Regions from separate parts of the Homo sapiens genome. Here regions 2, 3, 4, 5, 6 and 7 are each linked to region 1. The links are contacts of gene promoters, found by promoter capture Hi-C in blood cells and fetal thymus (Javierre and others, 2016). All regions are on one chromosome and are shown on one strand. The core of a region is centred on a gene start or on the middle of the fragment in contact, and the rest is flanking DNA. Distances in the headings are between cores, read along the strand shown.

The links. Contacts are between HindIII fragments. The CHiCAGO score rates a contact against its expected background, and 5 or more counts as called.
Region 2: a contact is called between a fragment that was not itself captured here and the fragment with the promoter of TSPYL4 in region 1, in 1 of 17 cell types (M2 macrophages). The highest score is 5.1, in M2 macrophages.
Region 3: a fragment that was not itself captured here is called in contact with the fragment with the promoter of TSPYL4 in region 1 in 6 of 17 cell types (monocytes, M1 macrophages, naive CD8 T cells and 3 more); the score reaches 7.5 in monocytes.
Region 4: a fragment that was not itself captured here is called in contact with the fragment with the promoter of TSPYL4 in region 1 in 9 of 17 cell types (naive B cells, fetal thymus, total CD4 T cells and 6 more); the score reaches 12.9 in naive B cells.
Region 5: a contact is called between a fragment that was not itself captured here and the fragment with the promoter of TSPYL4 in region 1, in 10 of 17 cell types (naive B cells, M0 macrophages, fetal thymus and 7 more). The highest score is 14.4, in naive B cells.
Region 6: a fragment that was not itself captured here is called in contact with the fragment with the promoter of TSPYL4 in region 1 in 5 of 17 cell types (total B cells, fetal thymus, M2 macrophages and 2 more); the score reaches 7.3 in total B cells.
Region 7: a contact is called between the fragment with the promoter of RSPH4A here and the fragment with the promoter of TSPYL4 in region 1, in 4 of 17 cell types (fetal thymus, naive B cells, monocytes and 1 more). The highest score is 9.4, in fetal thymus.

What each region holds. Positions count from the first base shown.
Region 1 is chr6:116,252,750-116,255,423 of GRCh38, reverse strand. It overlaps TSPYL4 (TSPY like 4), which reads left to right and starts at 1,349. Exons shown (of 1, transcript NM_021648.5): 1 at 1,349-2,674. The coding sequence starts at 1,416. The coding sequence ends at 2,660. It also overlaps a transcript of DSE not described here. RefSeq lists enhancers at 978-1,207, 1,618-1,777. The HindIII fragment of the contact is 9,221 bases long and covers 1-2,674 here.
Region 2 is chr6:116,725,718-116,728,391 of GRCh38, reverse strand. KPNA5 (karyopherin subunit alpha 5) reads right to left here. Exons shown (of 14, transcript NM_001366306.2): 11 at 2,516-2,641; 12 at 1,770-1,897. Among named protein-coding and RNA genes, the nearest start is that of FAM162B, 39 kb to the left of the region's middle. The HindIII fragment of the contact is 1,643 bases long and covers 544-2,186 here.
Region 3 is chr6:116,696,101-116,698,774 of GRCh38, reverse strand. It overlaps KPNA5 (karyopherin subunit alpha 5), which reads right to left. Exons shown (of 14, transcript NM_001366306.2): 5 at 1-71. Among named protein-coding and RNA genes, the nearest start is that of KPNA5, 16 kb to the right of the region's middle. The HindIII fragment of the contact is 1,511 bases long and covers 613-2,123 here.
Region 4 is chr6:116,673,793-116,676,466 of GRCh38, reverse strand. No RefSeq gene overlaps it. Among named protein-coding and RNA genes, the nearest start is that of KPNA5, 6.1 kb to the left of the region's middle. The HindIII fragment of the contact is 7,093 bases long and covers 1-2,674 here.
Region 5 is chr6:116,655,690-116,658,363 of GRCh38, reverse strand. It overlaps ZUP1 (zinc finger containing ubiquitin peptidase 1), which reads left to right. Exons shown (of 10, transcript NM_145062.3): 5 at 1,512-1,680. Among named protein-coding and RNA genes, the nearest start is that of ZUP1, 12 kb to the left of the region's middle. The HindIII fragment of the contact is 2,964 bases long and covers 1-2,674 here.
Region 6 is chr6:116,632,853-116,635,526 of GRCh38, reverse strand. It overlaps RSPH4A (radial spoke head component 4A), which reads right to left. Exons shown (of 6, transcript NM_001010892.3): 6 at 2,542-2,674. It overlaps LOC124901386 (a long non-coding RNA gene), which reads left to right and starts at 1,264. Exons shown (of 2, transcript XR_007059721.1): 1 at 1,264-1,722. The HindIII fragment of the contact is 3,276 bases long and covers 1-2,674 here.
Region 7 is chr6:116,615,162-116,617,835 of GRCh38, reverse strand. It overlaps RSPH4A (radial spoke head component 4A), which reads right to left and starts at 1,357. Exons shown (of 6, transcript NM_001010892.3): 1 at 527-1,357. The coding sequence starts at 1,212. RefSeq lists enhancers at 1,038-1,157, 1,208-1,307. The HindIII fragment of the contact is 5,584 bases long and covers 1-2,674 here.

The sequences.
Region 1 (2,674 bases), core at 100-2,599:
GCAAGGCAGGCTGTTTCTCCGTATTGTCTGCCAGTGACCTTTCATCAGTACTTTATCTTAGTTGAACCAGAACTACACTCCTTCCCTCGCTAGAAGTCTCAGTATATATGATGTATTCCTCTAAGAGGAATCCTTTTTCTCTAAATCTGTACTTCTGAGCCTGTATTTGAAAGTGATCATAATCTGGGGGGCTTAAAATGGAGTTTCTTTTACAAAGAGTTATAATCATAACCGTTTATTTGAATATAAATTTGACATTAAACATAAATATGCAAAATTTAAATTTCCCTTTGGTCTTGCATTTTTCTAAGGATTAACACCATTATTCTCACACTCCAACAAACTAATATATTGTACTGATAATCACTATCAAATGAATTGTAAGAGCTAACTGACTCGAATAGACAATAACTAACCTTACTTTTAAAGTATTTTAAGAGACAGTAGCATAGATGCCTGCACATAGCTGATTATTGCTCCTGTGCTGCAGTGAATTACCACATGAACACATTTTGAAAAGATTTGTTAGCTTCATGTCCACAGGCATTATGAAGCAGGAACCACTTTTAGATTAAGATTGTAACCTGAGGAAAAGAACATATGCATCAGTTTAGAAATTAAAATCCCCTGAGATATTTCTTTCAGTAATGCTTAAAAGCCTAAATTTGTGCTCGTGTGCCAGTCACCTCTACGTAAGGAAAAACATTTTGCTACTCTTTGTTAAAAGTGAAGAGGAAATATTGTCCACTTGTTTTGTAGATGTTGGCCAAATTATATAAACTTTAAAATCTGTAAGACAAATTGAAATATTCCTTTATTATGTCTTGTTAGGATGAGAGAAGTTTGCCTTTCAGCTGCTCCTTAATTTTAAAAATAACAACACAGCAACACTTCTCTTTAAAATCAAACTCTGCTCATTTAAATTCTTTGGTAATAGCCATGAATCCACACCTTAAAAGAAGGAAGGCCTGTGAGTTCGTGAATCCACTTTCCTACTCAGGAGAAGCCCTATGAACTGACTTGAATAGACAGTAACTCACCTTAAAGTAAATATTTTCAGAAACAATAGGTTAGGTGCCTTAGAAATTCATTCAGAGGCTTAGAAATCCACATTAACACAGTTCTTACATGCTTGAGTCTGGTCTACATCCATTTACGTAAGTAAAACTCCCCTTCCAGACTGACGAAATTCTTTTTGTGACAAGAAGACAAAGGAATACGATGGATTGATAAGCGTAGTCAACCGCGCAGAGAGTTCTCGCGCGATGTTACGACGCTACCGCCCTGACATCACCAGTTGCCATGGTAGCACCGCCGAGAGTAAAGGAGGGGTGGTGCTAGACGTTTCGGGCAGAGCTCGGCCGCTGCGGAGGACAAGGAACTCTCCCTCTCCCACTAGTCTGACTTCTTCCAAAATGAGCGGCCTGGATGGGGGCAACAAGCTCCCTCTCGCCCAAACCGGCGGCCTGGCTGCTCCCGACCATGCCTCAGGAGATCCGGACCGAGACCAGTGCCAAGGGCTCCGTGAAGAAACCGAGGCGACACAGGTGATGGCGAACACAGGTGGGGGCAGCCTGGAGACCGTTGCGGAGGGGGGTGCATCCCAGGATCCTGTCGACTGTGGCCCCGCGCTCCGCGTCCCAGTTGCCGGGAGTCGCGGCGGTGCAGCGACCAAAGCCGGGCAGGAGGATGCTCCACCTTCTACGAAAGGTCTGGAAGCAGCCTCTGCCGCCGAGGCTGCTGACAGCAGCCAGAAAAATGGCTGTCAGCTTGGAGAGCCCCGTGGCCCTGCTGGGCAGAAGGCTCTAGAAGCCTGTGGCGCAGGGGGCTTGGGGTCTCAGATGATACCGGGGAAGAAGGCCAAGGAAGTGACGACTAAAAAACGCGCCATCTCGGCAGCAGTGGAAAAGGAGGGAGAAGCAGGGGCGGCGATGGAGGAAAAGAAGGTAGTGCAGAAGGAAAAAAAGGTGGCAGGAGGGGTGAAAGAGGAGACACGGCCCAGGGCCCCGAAGATCAATAACTGCATGGACTCACTGGAGGCCATCGATCAAGAGTTGTCAAACGTAAATGCCCAGGCTGACAGGGCCTTCCTTCAGCTTGAGCGCAAGTTTGGCCGCATGCGAAGGCTCCACATGCAGCGCAGAAGTTTCATTATCCAGAATATCCCAGGTTTCTGGGTTACTGCCTTTCGAAACCACCCCCAGCTGTCACCTATGATCAGTGGCCAAGATGAAGACATGCTGAGGTACATGATCAATTTGGAGGTGGAGGAGCTTAAACACCCCAGAGCAGGCTGCAAATTCAAGTTCATCTTTCAGGGCAACCCCTACTTCCGAAATGAGGGGCTTGTCAAGGAATATGAACGCAGATCCTCTGGCCGGGTGGTGTCTCTTTCCACTCCAATCCGCTGGCACCGAGGCCAAGACCCCCAGGCTCATATCCACAGAAACCGGGAAGGGAACACTATCCCTAGTTTCTTCAACTGGTTTTCAGACCACAGCCTTCTAGAATTCGACAGAATTGCAGAGATTATCAAAGGAGAACTGTGGCCCAATCCCCTACAATACTACCTGATGGGTGAAGGGCCCCGTAGAGGAATTCGAGGCCCACCAAGGCAGCCAGTGGAGAGCGCCAGATCCTTCAGGTTCCAGTCTGGCTAATCTCTGTCCTGTGA
Region 2 (2,674 bases), core at 116-2,615, 470 kb before region 1:
AACTTAATGAAATGATAAAAGTGGTTAGAAAAATAATTATCTCAGTTTGGATACTTAATCCATACTAATAAATTAAAGCAATAATATACAGAATAGATATAACCACAAAAATTAATTGAAAAAATACAACTATTTGCAGGTGAACAAACTTGCAGCCCAAATAAAATAAAAGTAACATCAACATTAAAAAAATACAAAATAGAACAAAGGAAGGGTCTTCATTTATTACTGCTTGTATCCATGACACAAAGTGGAAATACTGATGAAAGCAAAGAGATAGAATAGAAAATAAAAGGCAGAGACAGATGCTAGCAATATACAGCTATACAAATTTGAGAGAGCAAGATAATACTACAAATGAAGGCAATAAAAGACGACAATTTCACAATAGGTAGATTTCAAAATTATGTGATTTATAAAATAGCACTGTAGTTTGACTTGTTTTATAAATTGAAAAATAAATCAAATATGCATTAGAAAATATTTTCTAAGAAGTCTAGTTTCATGGAGGGATCCTCCGAACAAGACGATTCTGTAGAAGCTTTTAGTAGAGGTGTAAGTGAAACTTTGCTATGGGAGATAAAAAAGAGTGAAAGTACATGATAAAAGATTCAGGAATCAATACTGATAATAAAAATTATGATGATTACAAATAATAACAGTAGCTATTCTTAATTATCTATTAGTTATTAATAATATGTTTAGGCACTGTGCTGACACTTCAAAGACATAAATTTCACTTAACTATCAAGATACAGTCCCTCGGTTTCATCGGAGATTGGTTCCAAGACACCCTTCCTCTCAATACCAAAATCCACAGATGCTCAATTCCTTTATATAAAATGGCATAGTATTTGCATACAACCTATGCATATCTTTCCAAGTATTTGAAATTATCTTTAGATTACTTATAATACCTAAAACAATGTAATTGCTATGATGTTACTAATTGTTGTATTGTGTTTTTAAATTTGCATTATTTTGTAGTGTTGTACTGGCATTTTTTACTGTCTTTTTCTTTTTTAATATTTTTGACCTGCAGGTGGTTGAATCCACAGATGCAAAACCCAAGGATATGGAAGGCTGACTTACACTGCCATAACTATTCATTACTGGAACTCATTTTTTAAAATGAAGAAACTAGATTAGAGGGGTTAAATGACTTTGTCAAGACCACACAACTTTTACTGAAGGAGCAGGATTTGAAATCAGGCTGACTTAAAAGCCCATGCACCTATTATTTACATTGTCAGCAGAATAAATAAATTTAAAAAGCCTAGACTCAAAAAGCTAATATAAAAAAAAGGTAACTAGTATAGAAAAATAAAAGATACTATCCATAGGCAAGGCTAACAATCAATGAGGACCAGAACATCACCATATAAACAATGTCTATTTCAATTTTATTTAAAGTAAGTGGATATTCAAATTTATTAGCCATTTCTATATAATAAAGCTATATTTTTGTGATTAAAAAATATTTAATGCCCATGACAGTGTACTCTGCAAATTAACATAGACCGTTCCCGTTTGGATTTTTTAATCTCTGATTTTTCTTAAGCAGCCTATCAAGGAGAATGATGTTAATTACACGTTAAATGGGGAAAAAAAAATTGTGAATGAGTAACTGATATAATACATGCTGTCATTTCATATTATCAAACTGACTTAGAAATAATATTTTAGTTCCATCAGTAAATTAAAATATGTTTTATTTCAACTTTTGTCTCATTTACATGTAAAAAACAATTAAGAAGTTTATATCATACCTTATTTGCTCTGGAGTACCTCCTGATGTTGCATTAGTTATAGCCCAAGCTGCTTCTTTTCTGGTACGAAACTCTGCTTTCTGAAGAATCTCAATCAAAACAGGAAAAATATTTGCATCTATAACAGCCTGAGAGGGGGAAAAATATATAATCAGTACAAATACTGTTTCTAAAATATTACCAGTAAAAAAAATCTTGAAACTCAATGGCTTCAAAATGTCAAGGTTTTTGGAACCTTGACATTAAAATAAATTTTTAATTTCTATTCTGTCAGCAAACTTTTCAAATATTTTTCTTTTTACATAGGAAATTAGCTTTTTAAAGACTGGAGAATAGCAAAATATAAATTTTAGAGATGATAAAGCACAAGCCATGTGACTGATCAAAATGGATAAGTAATCACTGACACAAGAAGCTTGATAGAACCCTAATAAATCATTAAAAGCTTTGAGAGGAAGATTATTGCATAACTTATTTAAAACTAATGCAAAAAAATATCTTTCTAAAGACAAACCATTATGTGTCAGGCACTGTGCTAGACACACACACACACACACACACTTGATGTTCTTCACTAGAATACTACAAGTAAATGTTATTATTTTAGAGGAGGAAAGCCCATGTTCTTTAAAATACTTTTTCGGTATCTTTTTAAAAAGGAATCTTTTTTAGTAAAAGTGTTAACTTTTGTCCAAACTGGCTTCTTAGACCTTGCTGTTCTACTCTCAGATCTGAAGGGTAGTTACCTGAATCTGAGCTCTATTTCCAGCAGTGATGTTAGAAACAGTCCAGCAGGCTTCTTTTCTAATTGACTCCTTTGGGCTACTCAATAAATGTAAGAGACAGGGTAATGCAGAACAATTCAAAATTACCTAAAACAAGTTAGAAATGGAAACAAAAAGTTT
Region 3 (2,674 bases), core at 119-2,618, 440 kb before region 1:
TTCAAGAAATTTCACAAATCTCTGTACAACTCCTGGTTTCTGTATAACTTGATCTATTGGTGGATTAGGTTCTAAAAATTTAAAAAGACTTCAGTTATTACAAAGACACAAAAAGAAAACAATCTAGTCCCTGTGTCCATTAACAGGGCACATAAAATAACTCTTTCCTAGGTTTCCCTGACCCAAGATTAAAACCCTTAGCTAGATGTAATTGAAGTCAAATTTTCTCCAGATTACAATGTTTTTTGTACATTTTGCAAATTCCGCTTTCTCATTCACTGCAAGAAATTTTAAAAATATTTCCTACATAAACATTTAAATTTCATAAATTGAAGGCTATTGAGCACACCTTTAAAACATTGATTATTTCTGTCTAAAACTCAAAATACCAACTGAGGAATTAAGTTTCCACTAATTCTTTATAGTACTACCCTCAATTTCTAAGCATATCTCCTTCATTATCAACCACAATTTACCTAATGTCTGTCAAACAAGATTCTTTTTTGTCCGTGAATTATTTTTTACAGAAATGTTAACGGACTGTCTACAATTACTGATAAATTTTCATGAAATGCAGACAGCTTTTGAGAATCATAAAATATCTAGGAAGCTTATATAAAATCCAGACAAAGACATTTCAGGTACTGGTCATCTAAGTATAAAGAACTCTTTCCTCTACCTTGGCTTCAGCAAAACGTACCCTCTACGGTTCTTCAGTAACTTCCCTATTGGTGTTCTTTTGGGATAGTCTTATTCCTGTTTATTCTCATCTTAGAAAATGTACCTATTTTTGTTAATGCAAGTACCAGATATTATTACTATTTGTGATAATTCACAGACCTTACAACCTTAACCGAATTCTCCTTTCCTAGATTTCAGACCATATTCCTAAGTGACTATAAGATGCATTTTTATTTTAACACCTTTTAAAATGTATTTTCACACTTCTTTCAAAATGCAGCATACCCAAAATCAAACTCATTATATCATCATGGTTATTCCTTCCCTTGCCCTGCATCCACCACCTAAATTGTATATTACTATGTTATCTATTCATGTAGTCATGAAAAAGAGCATACTCATTTCCACTTCTGATTCTTCCTTTTCTTCTTACTTCCTCTATTTGACTGTGTTACTGATCATAAAGAACTCATATATTAATGTTAACATACTGTGTTTGATGAGTAGGATGAATAAGCAAATGGTGGACATAAAACACCTGTACAAATCATTCTTTTTGATATAGAAAAATGTTTTCATTAAGTTTTAAGTCAGCTCAAATCCTAGAAACCTTGTTCTCAATTGTTAAGAAAGATTTACTTAGAAACAGACTTCCTTCTTCCTTTTCATTTTTCTACAAATTTGCTATTCTTCTAACTTGGACAAAATTTAGAAAATTTCTGCAGTTAGTAAAGTTATACCCATCAAGTTTTGTTTGGGTGTTCTAAATGAAAAGCCCCAATTCTTCAAGATGGAAAACTGAATTCCAGACCCTAACTTATACTGTTATAAAACATCAACAGGATAAAACAGTAAGTATTCTTAATCATTTTACCTTCCATCTTAAAAAAATCAAAACAAAATTATAGGGTTGCAATTATCACCTGCACTTTCTTGTTTTTCCTTTATTTCCAAAGCAAATCATAAATATATTATCCTATTTTGTTTTAAATTTAATGTACAGAAATTTTGTCTTGCTCTTTATGAAAGAGATGAGAGAGAAGGAAGAAAATATAGGGTTTTGTGGTTGGTAGGTAGGGCGAGGTGGTCATTGAGAATGTCAGCTATATATATTAAATATAGATATGATATGATATATACCCCCCCACACACACACATAAGAACCCAAATATAGTTTCTTCCCGGTGAATTAAAAGCAACACATTTATATTTATCTTCATCTAAAAGAAAGCAATTAAAGTGCACTTGGATTGTCAGCTTATCTAACAGGTATCATGAACTACTATTAGTATTATATTGACAGGATGATAGTCTACATAATCTTATAATGGTGATAAACTGCTACCGAGAAGACTTTTAGTCATTATGGCAATAAGTAGTATAGGGGGAATATCTCCTTCAGCACTGAAAACTAAGCAAGAGTCAGGCAAAAGAAAAAAGCTTTGGAGAACTTTCTACAAAACTGGGATTGAAGAAAAGGATGGTTTGTGATTTACATCCACAAGAGTGGCCACGAAAAGGAAATAAATAGAAGATGTAACAAAAGGTCACCGTCGCAGACTTAAGTCAGAGGAGTAAAAGCTGGAGCTAAGATAGGCTGTGCAGTACCCAGGGCATATTCATATCTTCCTAGTGTCTACAGTAAGAACACTAATTACAATAAAGAAATGCCTGCAAAAGAGGCAAAGTTTCCTGTTGTTTCTGCTTCCAGTTCTGGCCTCTAGATGCTTGCTTTCCCATATTTCCTACTTTGACAGATCAAATAAAAATACAGTAAATCTATTATTTTTCTAGGCCTGATAGATGTGGCAGGAACTCACATCAATCAGTGAAAGAAAACATCTATTAACTCCTTGCTGTATGTCCAACTGGGCAAGCATAATTCCATTACAAAGAAGAAACAGAGAACACAATTGTCTCTGTGAAAGATAGTACAGTTTAACGGAAACAGAATACCTTGAGGAATTAGAGTAAATGAGGACAAAGTCTTCTG
Region 4 (2,674 bases), core at 84-2,583, 420 kb before region 1:
TAAATTATGTTGCATTATTAGCAACAGAGACTTCAGACAATCTTATAGGAAGTGCAGAAGCTGGGATGGCCCTTCAGAATTGTCACTGTTGAGGCTAGAGGCTCATGTTTCTATCACTGAATCAAGAAGTCTTTGGATATCACTGAATCAAATCCAGAGAGGAGGGTTAATCTTGGGTGAGGCAGCAGCTCCCTTTGACCAGAGTGCAGTTTCTGAAGTGGAACTTGGCCTAGAGCCCTCATCATTGGGGGAAGAAAATCCTTTAGTCCTGAACCAGAACTTGGGCAGTGTACCAAAGGTTCTACCACACATACTTTTTCAGTTTTCCAAAGATAAAGAAATGAATGGCCTTCTTTCAGCTTCATGCCTCTTCTTTCTCATCCTCCTTATTTAGTCTTCCTCCTTTAAGCAACCTATAAATGTTGGCGCCAGGCCTCTTACTTTGCTGCATTGCCTCTCTAGGTGATACAACATACTCCTGTATTTTTAAAAGCCATCTACCTATAAACCACTTTCTCCCAAATTCAAATTTCCATCCCTGACCTCTTCCTGGAGGTCTAAACTCATATATCAAACCTCCATTTGGATGTCTGATGGGCATCTCAAATTTAATAAGCCAAAACAGATTTTTTTATTCTATCCCATTCCACTTTATTTCTTTCTCAGGCCTCTTTATCTCTGTAATGATACAACTACGCAGCCAGAAACTCCAGTTAAAAAACTTATGAATCATTCTTTACCTTGCCCTTACCAGTGCCTCCTGTCTTTCGCTTCTAGCTCCAAAATAGTCCACATCTACACCTAGTCCATCTCTACTGACACTTCTTCTAGCATTCCATCATTTATTTCATAAACTGCAGTAGTATCCTAATTAAGCAATCTGTATCTACCTTGACTCCTTTATAATCTATTCCCTGTCCAGAAGGTGTAGTAATTTACAATTAAATTTTTATTTATTGTAATCAAATAATACAAATATATCATTTAAAGGGTCCAATAATAAGTTTATCGTGAAAATTAACACTTCCCACCTGACCATCCCCAGATGCCGCTCCCCAGAAGCTACTATTTTCAACTTGTTTAGGTATTCTTATTGGTATCTCTTTTCTAATTAAATATTTTAAAATCATACACTGCTATTTCTTAATTTGTAAAGTCATAGACATTTTCTATTGTTATAGATGTAAAATGAGAATTTATTACTCATAACTGCACTAACCTCCCAACATACACATTTACACATACTTCCTGATCGCACATCCTCCAATATAGTTCTATCAAAATTATTTTGGTTAAATCAATATTTAAATTTTTATGTAAAAATTACATTCCTTGTATAGTTTTTTATTGTTCTAAAATTAATTGCCTGTTTTCTGTCATTATCATTTGCTTAATTTTCTAACTACTCATCACTAACTCATCTTCAAACACACTGCTGGAGATCTGTATTAGTTTCCTGTTGCTGCTCTAACCAATTACCACAAACTTGCTGACTTAAAATAACATAAATGTATTATCTTACACTTTTAGAGGTCAGAAGTCCAAAATGGGTCTCACTGGGCTAAAATCAAGGTGTCAGCAAAGTTGTGTTTCTTCTGGAGCCTATAGGGGAGAATCCATTTCCTTGCCTTTTCCAGTTCCTTGAAGCTACCTACATTCCTTGGCTTCTGGACCCCTTTCAGCAATTACATCTCTCTGACCTCTGTTTCTGTTATCGCATCTCCTTTTCTAAGACTGACCTTCCTATCTGTCTCCCTCTCATGAGGACCCTTGTGATTACATTGTGCCTACCTAGATAAACCCCTCTTGTCAAGATCCTTAATCACATCTACAAATTCCTTTTGCCATGAAAAGTAAGATATTCACAGGTTCTGTTAATAAGGAAATAGAATCTTTTAAAAAAATTTAATATTAGAGACGGGGGGGGCGGGTCTCACTATGTTGGCCAGGCTAGTCACCAACTCCTAGCCTTAAACAATCCTCCCACCTTGGCCTTTCAAAGTGCTGGGATTACACGTGTGAGCCACCATGCCTGGCCAGGACATAAACATCTTTGAGGGACACTATTCTGCTTAACAGAATATATTTCTCTCAGTATGGTCATAAACATGAAGTGATCTGTCAGTTGCCTCTTTCCTCCCTCCCTCCCTTTCTTTTTCTTCCTTTCTGCCTTCATTCCTGTCTGTTCTCTCTCATCTTGGTAGAGTTTTTTATGGAATTCCATACGTTCTACTTTCTTTTTTTCTTTTCTTTTCTTTTCTTTTCTTTTTTTTTTTTTTTTTTTTTTGAGATGGGGTCTCAATCTGTCACCCAGGCTAGAGTGCAGTGGTGTGATCTCGGATCACTGCAACCTCTGCCTTCTGGGCTCAAATGATCCTCCAACCTCAGCCTCCTCAGTAACTAGGACCACAGGCACACGTCACCACGTCCGGATAATTTTTTGTATTTTTGGTAGTGACGGGGTTTCACCATATTGCCCAGGCTGGTCTCAAACTCCTAAGCTCAAGCAATCCGCCTGCCTCGGCCTCCCAAAGTGCTAGGATTACAGGTGTGAGCCACCATGCCCGGCCCCATACCTTCCACTTTCTTTGCTTCTTCCCTCATTTTGGTGGGAGCTTCCTGGGAAATAATAAGAAATAATGTTTCAGGAGAAATTATTATTAAGTCATGAATT
Region 5 (2,674 bases), core at 115-2,614, 400 kb before region 1:
TAAATTATTTTACAGATTGCAATTTCAAACATTTACAACTATTTTATGGGAAAATGCTTTTTTTAAATGATATTTGAGGCTTCATTTATCTTAGGTGGGTGGTTTTACCTGTTGGACTAAACTGGTAGCATCTGTTATATTTTTAATGCATTTAAAATTTTAATGTCTGTTTTTCCTTTTTTCAGTCCTAATTTGTAGACTGTAGTGTTATCTGTGCTAATAATGCTCATAGATTCATAGATTTTGTTGTTGTTGTTTGTTTGTTTGTTTGAGACGGAGTTTCACTCTTGTCGCCCAGGCTGGAATGCAATGGTGCAATCTTGGTTCACTGCAACCTCCGCCTTCTAGGGTCAAGTGATTCTCCTGCCTCAGCCTCCCAAGTAGCTGGGATTACAGGTGTGCACCACCATGCCTGGCTCATTTTTTTGTATTATTAGTAGAGACAGGGTTTCACCGTGTTGGCCAAACTGGTCTTGAACTCCTAAACTCAGGTGATCCACCTGCCTTGGCCTCCCAAAGTGCTGGGATTATAGGCATGAGCCACCGTGCCTGGCCTATTGCTTATAGTTTTTAAATGTTCTTTTTTTAGTGATGATAGGATAGTGCATACATAAAAAGGGTTTACAGTTGAATAGGTTTGAAAGTGTTCAGTTAAACAGGTTTGTATACTTTGGGACTTCTCAAAGCCTTTAATATACTAATGTGCATGTACATATCACAATTTCCCCAGACTTGTTTGACCTCTCTTTTTTTCTCAGACATCTCACATGAGTATTGTTGCTTAGAATGTGCTTTGGAAGACCTAATGTAGGATTTTTTTCTCACTGGTGACTCACAATACTTGCAAAATAGGAAAGAAAATTGGCTTTTCTTAAGACTTTTATGCCTTATGTAATTTAAAACATGATCAATACAAAAAGTTTCCAATATTTAAGGAGGTTATGTAATTTTGCAAGTTAGTTGTTTAGATCTCAGAAAATTTTTCTGTAGAAAAGTTTCCGTGAAAACTTTTCCATAGACAATTTTTCCATAGTTTTATACATACTATTTGAGATTTCTGTCCAGTGTACAAAACATAGTTCATTTACTGTGTAACATGACTGACTAAATGAATTATGGATTAAGTAGGCCTTTATGGACTAGACTGGGAACCAAATAACAAGGACTGACAAGTTTCCTTGAAAAAATCAGCAATGCATTCAGAACTCTTCTGCATCTCCCAATACCTGAGGTAGAAAGACAGGATCCTCTGCTTTCCCTACTACAGGAAAAGCAAGTCTCTTGCCCTGGAGATTGATTATAAAGAAGTGGTTGCTTATTAAGTCAATAATTTTTTTTTGTGTGTGTGTGTGTGTGTGTTATTAGTTTTTGTAAAAATCTTTAAGTTAACTTGTATAAAGTCTATAAACCAGAATGTTTCAACATGTTTCCAAATAAAATTTTAATAAGTTTCCATCCTCATAGAGTTACAGGGATGTAAAAATTAAGTCATTTATTTTTATGTTCAATAGAGACAATATGGTTTAGATAATTCTGGAGGATACAAACAACAACAACTACGAAATATGGAGATAGAAGTAAATAGGGGAAGAATGCCTCCATCTGAATTTCATAGGAGAAAAGCTGATATGATGGAATCATTAGCTCTTGGTTTTGACGATGGAAAAACAAAAACTTCCGGTGAGTATTTAAACATCAGAGTCATTGTTTTAATATTGCTTATACCACTGAAGTAATAATCAGAATCATTTTAATTTTGCTTAATTTTCATAATCTGTGCACAAATATTTTTTTAAAAATGTATTGTTTTAAAACTTCTGAATTATTTTTATGATAAATAATTCACTTAAAAATTTACTTTTATATTATGTTACTTGACATTTAAAAAGCTATGCTCTAGAGAGTGCTAAGAGAAATATAATGTGAGCCACATATATAATTTTAAATTTCCTGGCTCCACATTAACAAAAGTGAAAAGGAGGCTGGGCGCGGTGGCTCATGCCTGTAATCCCAGCACTTTGGGAGGCTGAGACAGGCGGATCACCTGAGGTCGGGAGTTCGAGACTAGCCTAACCAACATGGAGAAATCCCATCTCTACTAAAAAAAAATTACAAAATTAGCTGGGCGTGGTGGCACATGCCTGTAATCCCAGCTACTAGGGAGGCTGAGGCAGGAGAATCGCTTGAACCCGGGAGGCGGAGGTTGCGGTGAGCCGAGATTGCGCCATTGCACTCCAGCCTGGGCAACAAGAGCGAAACTCCATCTCAAAAAAAACAAAAAAAAAACAAAAAAAAGTGAAAAGGAACAGGGGAAGTTAATTTAAATAGTTTAAACCAGTGTATCCATGATATTATTATTTCAACATGTAATCAACATTAAAACTATTACTGAGACATTTTACATTGTTTATACATTCTTCAAAATCCATTGTGTATTTTCTACTTCACAGCACAACTCAATTGGGCAGCCACATTTCAAATTCTCGATAGCCACAAATGGCTATTGGCTATTTTATTGTTTGTACATTTTTAGACACTAACAACTCTATATACATTGTATCATTTAACTCAAAACATCCTCTCCTGTACTGTTATATATTCCAAATGAGGTCACTGTTGCTTAGAGAAGTTACAGTGACTTTGCCAAAGCAAGGTTACACAGCTGGTTATTCCT
Region 6 (2,674 bases), core at 51-2,550, 380 kb before region 1:
CTTAGTATGTTACATATATTACTTAGTTTAATCTTCAGAATAGTTCTGTGAGACAAGTACTATTATTAGGCCCATGAAGAAGCAAGCTAAAGCCCTGAGAGGTTAGTAATTTGCCCAAGAAAAATCTTGATCCAGGGTATGAACCTAGGCTATCTCACTTCCAACCAAACTCTTACCATTAAACTATTTGGCTGTCTTCCGTTAGAGAACATATATAGTAAAATTTCTTCCTCACTGCTTAGAAATAATATTTAACAGGCATAGTTCTATAAAGAAGGATTTGCATTGATTAAGTGTTTATACTAACTATACAACTGTGATTTAGAGTCTTGTGTTTAATGTGTTCTGTAGAAAAGAAACTTTCCACTTCTTGTTGGACATGCCACATGTGGTTGCAACCAAGAATCCTGGCCAATGTAATTCATCAAAAAACTACCAGAAGCTCACAGTCCATGGGTAGAACTTAGCTGGAACCAAGCCAACTGTGGAAACTAGAATATGGTCTAATTTGTAGAAGGAACAATCTGGTTAGGAGCCCATAATTTAGATCCCAGAGAGGCTACATCTGATTGGCATGAGACTATTTAATGGGACAGAGGCAGTTCCTCAAAAGGAAATCAGGGTAGGTAATGAAATGGATATTAAGCAACACTAAAGAACATGTCTACTATGTCATGAAAAAATGAATAACAACCAACATGAATGAAGTTTTGTGAATTTTAGGTATGCCAACAAAGAATGAAAGTTGCACTTCAAGAATGAAATAGTATTGCCAATTTAATTCTGGAAACCATCTTTCCTAATGTTCTGTCCTTCAGACTGGTAACCAGTTTTCTTTTTTTTTTTTTTTGAAACATGGTCTTGCTCTGTCACGCAGGCTGGAGTGCAGTGGCACGATCATAGCTCACTTGACCTCCTGGGCTCAAGCGATCCTCCCACCTCAGCCACCAGGTGCAGTTTTCTACTTTATATCCCCTTGCAGTTATCCTGGGTTTTTTGTTTTTTTGTTTATTTGTTTTTGTTTTTGAGACGGAGTCTCATTTTGTTGCCCAGGCTGGAGTGCCAATGGCGCAATCTTGGCTCACTGCAGCCTCTACCTCCCAGGTTCAAGCAGTCCTCCTGCATCAGCCTCACGAGTAGCTGGGATTACAGGCATGCGCCATGACACTCGACTAATGTTTGTATTTTTAGTAGAGACGAGGTTTCGCCACGTTGGCCAGGCTAGTCTCGAACTCCTGACCTCAGGTGATCCACCCGCCTTGGCCTCCCAAAGTGCTGGGATTACAGGTGTGAGCCACTGTGTTACCTAGATAATGTGATAACCTCCTAACTGGTCTCCTTGTCTCAAATCTGGATTCTCTCTCATCCATCTACACTGTAGCCAAAATGTTCTCAAATACAAATATTTGTGTGACTTTCTAGTGTAATCCTCTTCACTGTTCATGGGTAAAATCCAGACTTCCACACACTCTAGCCCCTCTTTGCCTCTGCAGGCTCATCTCTCACCACTTCTTGCGGTTGAAATTTCATTCCTTTCAGCCAAAAGTCCTTTGCCAGGATGCAGCTGATGCCACCAAGAACCTTCTCCCATAGCACTCCACCTGGTGGCTCTTAGAAGTGCTTCCTGACTTGCTGAAATCTGAATTCAGTGCACCTTGTGTTTGACAACAGTGTTACTCCGGGTGCAGATCTGTGATCTGCAAACTGAAGGTCTGTGGCAAGGTAAGTACAGACATTGAGAACTGCTGTGTCATTTTATTTTTAAAAAACAACAGTAATGGATTGGAATTATTTTTTAACTTAGCAAAATTCCTTTACTGTAGAATTTGAGAAGCACTGTTCTGTGTTACCTGTAATATTTGTATCACAATACTTGCTAAATTGCGATTGATTTTACATTTCTATTTACCTTTTTATAGTTCTCTCTTCAATGAAAGCTCTATGATTTCAAGAGTAGTGCCTAGTTTTTAGTCATAGCCACAGGTATATCTGGTACATACAGGACTTAAAAATGCTTTTTTAGTGAGGGAAGATAATGTTTTAGAGAAGTAGTGCTAGAAAATATAAGTCAAGTCTCTGGCTATCTCCAGCTAACCATATCTGTGCAAAGCAAATCATTTTTCCCTAATCAGTTCAAATCAATTTCTGTAGGATGAAAGAGGAGTCTGAGAAGACTTTTTGAGAAGTAACAAAAGAGTTAAAAATTTACCAGCCTGGCTAACATAGTGAAACCCCGTCTCTACTAAAAATACAAAAAAAGCCAGGTGTAGTGGCGTGCACCTGTAGTCCCAGCTACTCAGGAGGCTGAGGCAGGAGAAACACTTGAACCCGGGAGGCAGAGGTGGCAGTGAGCCGAGATCACACTACTGCACTCTAGCCTGGTGACAGAGACTCCGTCTCAAAAAAAAAAAAAAAGAAAAAAAAAAATTGAGTGTTCCTACAGTTTTAAGCAGGTGACAGAATTATGATACTATCTCAAGCAGGAAAAATGAATATATATGCTATAAAGTGTTTGCACACAATATCACAGTCCACACCATAGGTAATTACAAAGGTTTAAGAATACATGCTGAGATCAGTTCTTACAAAGGTTAAGAATACATTACTCTAGTGACTATCAATATTTTTTGTCTTCATACCCCTTGACACTCTTTAAAAAGTATTGATGTTTCCA
Region 7 (2,674 bases), core at 108-2,607, 360 kb before region 1:
GACCAATTCTCCGAGTTTGCGAGGACTAAGGGGTTTCTTAGGATAAAGAACTTTCAGCGCTCAGCCAAACTGAGATGGTGGTCACCCTAGCACTGCCTGGGTTGGGAACTCAAAAGCCATGCAAGCAATAGCATCTACAGATGAGAGACGTGATTGCTTTCACTGGTAGACAATTATTTTTCACAAGCATCCTGGAGAGATGCTTGGACTTTATGGTCTTTATGGTCTTTTTCAAGCCCGAGATTCCATAATTCCTAAGTTTTATTTTGTTGTGTGCCTAGGGTCTTTAAAGAAGCTGGAGGAAAAGGACAAAAAAAAAAAAAGGTTAAGAAAAAGAAGGTACAAGAATCTCCATTAATGACCTGTTTTGAGTCATGTGATCCAGAGTTATGTCATTAACTCTCTTTTACTAACACAATCTTTCAAATATATTTTGATTCACCCACAGAAACACACTCTCACACAGAGATACTCACACACCCTCTTGCTTTGCCAAACATTTATCTTTTTTCCCTCTGAGACTTACAGATTAAAGCCCGAATTGCTGCTAGTCTTCAGCAGGTAAGCCTTAGCATTCTGAATGGTGATCTCAAGCATGCTGGGGGCCACTTCAGAGCCCCCAGGCGCCGGCTGCTGTAAATCATAGTCACTGTTTGAGTCTTCCTCCTGAAAAACGTCAAATCTCAGCTCTTTCTGTTTAGCGTTGTTATAGCTCACGTCCCTTCGTCCACACAGGTGGGGTTTGGGTTGCTGAGACTGTTGAAAGGTGTTTCCTTCTGACTGGCTTGTGTGATGAGGAGTTGATTCTCTTTTATCAGATGATTGTTCCAAAGGATCAGGATAAGGTGTCCCAGCTTCAGGAATCACACTCGTGGTCCTGTCCGACTGAGGTGGTGCCGCGAGGTCTTGTCTGGCCGGAGCCAGGGGAGAAGGAGAGGAAGAGGGCTCCCGCGGAGAGACAGGAGCAGGTGATGATGTTTCTGGTCCCGCGGGGCCACCCAGAGGCGTCTTGGCTCTAGACTGCGGGCTCCAAGGACGGCTGCTTCGGGACTGGCGTCCAGTTTCTGGCCCCTGCTTCGCCTCCAAGGGCTCAGACGACTCAGGCTCAGAATATTGGGGAGAAGCTGCTGTCTTTCCTTCCCATGGCCGCCTTGTTTCCCCTAGTTCTTCTTGGTTTTCTTTTTCTTGCTTCGGGGAGGTTGAGTCCTCCATGGAAGCAGTTCAAGAAAAAAAATGTTCTGGATGAAAGGGGCGTGAAAATATGGAAGAAGGCAACTCAGTTAAGTTACTTTGCCGCGGTCTCTTAAGCGATTTCTGGGTCCTGGTTGCTCTGTGAGTTGCTGCGTCCTATCTCCATAGCAACCCCAGGCCGGGTTCCTCTCAGAAAAACTCACCGCGCCTGTTGCCAGGATTCGAGGGCGGAGACTAAGAGAGAACGAGAGAGAGAGATGAAAATCCTAGCTTTGTGATTCGGTACAACCCCTGCCCCTCGTTCTATCGCAGCCAATCCGACCTAGACTCGACCAGTCTTGCTTGGAAACCGAGAACTCCAGATCCTGCGCCTTGAGCACAAAGTAGGAAGAATGGCGACCCCATGCGAGAGACCTTTAGGGGTCTGAGACTGATCCAAGTTGTGCTGTGAGGAGCGAGTCGTGCGTTAGTGGAGGGACAGTGTATTCATGAAGCGTGTGTGTGGAGGGTGTGTGTGTGTGAGAGAGAGAGAGAAGGAAGGAAGGAAAGAACGGAGGAAGGAAGGGAGGGAGGGAGAGAGGAGAGTGAGGGGTAGAGAGGGAGGAAGAGACTGACCTTGGTAATCTCGGAGGTGCAGGTAACAATGGGACCCCAGTGTGCTGACCAGGAGACCCCAAGCCTCACATTTAGCGTGCATCAGCTACAACCAACCAACTCTAAAGACTCGGAGAATAGACAAAGCAGTCCTGAGTTTTGTTCTTCCTGCTTATAAGGAATCTCCTGGTGATTAGGCAGAATATTATACTTGAGAAGGCAATGCAGAAAACCTATAAATAGGCAATTCATGGGTTACCCGTTTTCTAATAATTGAAATTCAAATTAACACTAAACTATATTGGCATAATATAATTTTTATTTGATAATGTAAATGTAAATGCATAATTTTGCAATGATTTAAGTTCAAGATTATGACTATTCATTTATAGTATACAGTCTCCAATATGAAGAAGGTATAGAAGATTGGACCATATCTGGACTTAACTATAAACCATATATTAATTAAAGTCTTTAATGTTAATTGTTTTGTATTTCTTTCTCTTTCTAAATATACCAACAAATACTTGGCATTTGACAGTTTACATTGATATAGCTTCTATTTAGCAAGATGTTGCTCTAAATTCTAACTTCATGGAAGAACATAATACTCCTCCATTCAGTGTGGTGAGGGAATCACAGACTAAAATAATTTGATAAAAACTGTGTGCACACACACAAAATGTTGAATATAACTTCTGCTGGTACAGAGACTCTTTAAAGTCAAATGTCTGGGATTTAGAATGCTTGGATTTCTAAAAACAGAACATTAAGATAAACTAGAACAATAAATTCTGGGGTTTTTTGGTAATTGGTGCAAGAGTTGAGGAAGTTAGCATTTTTTCCCCCTTAATTTCTCCCTTGCAGCTGGCAAGCTGTAATGGAGGCT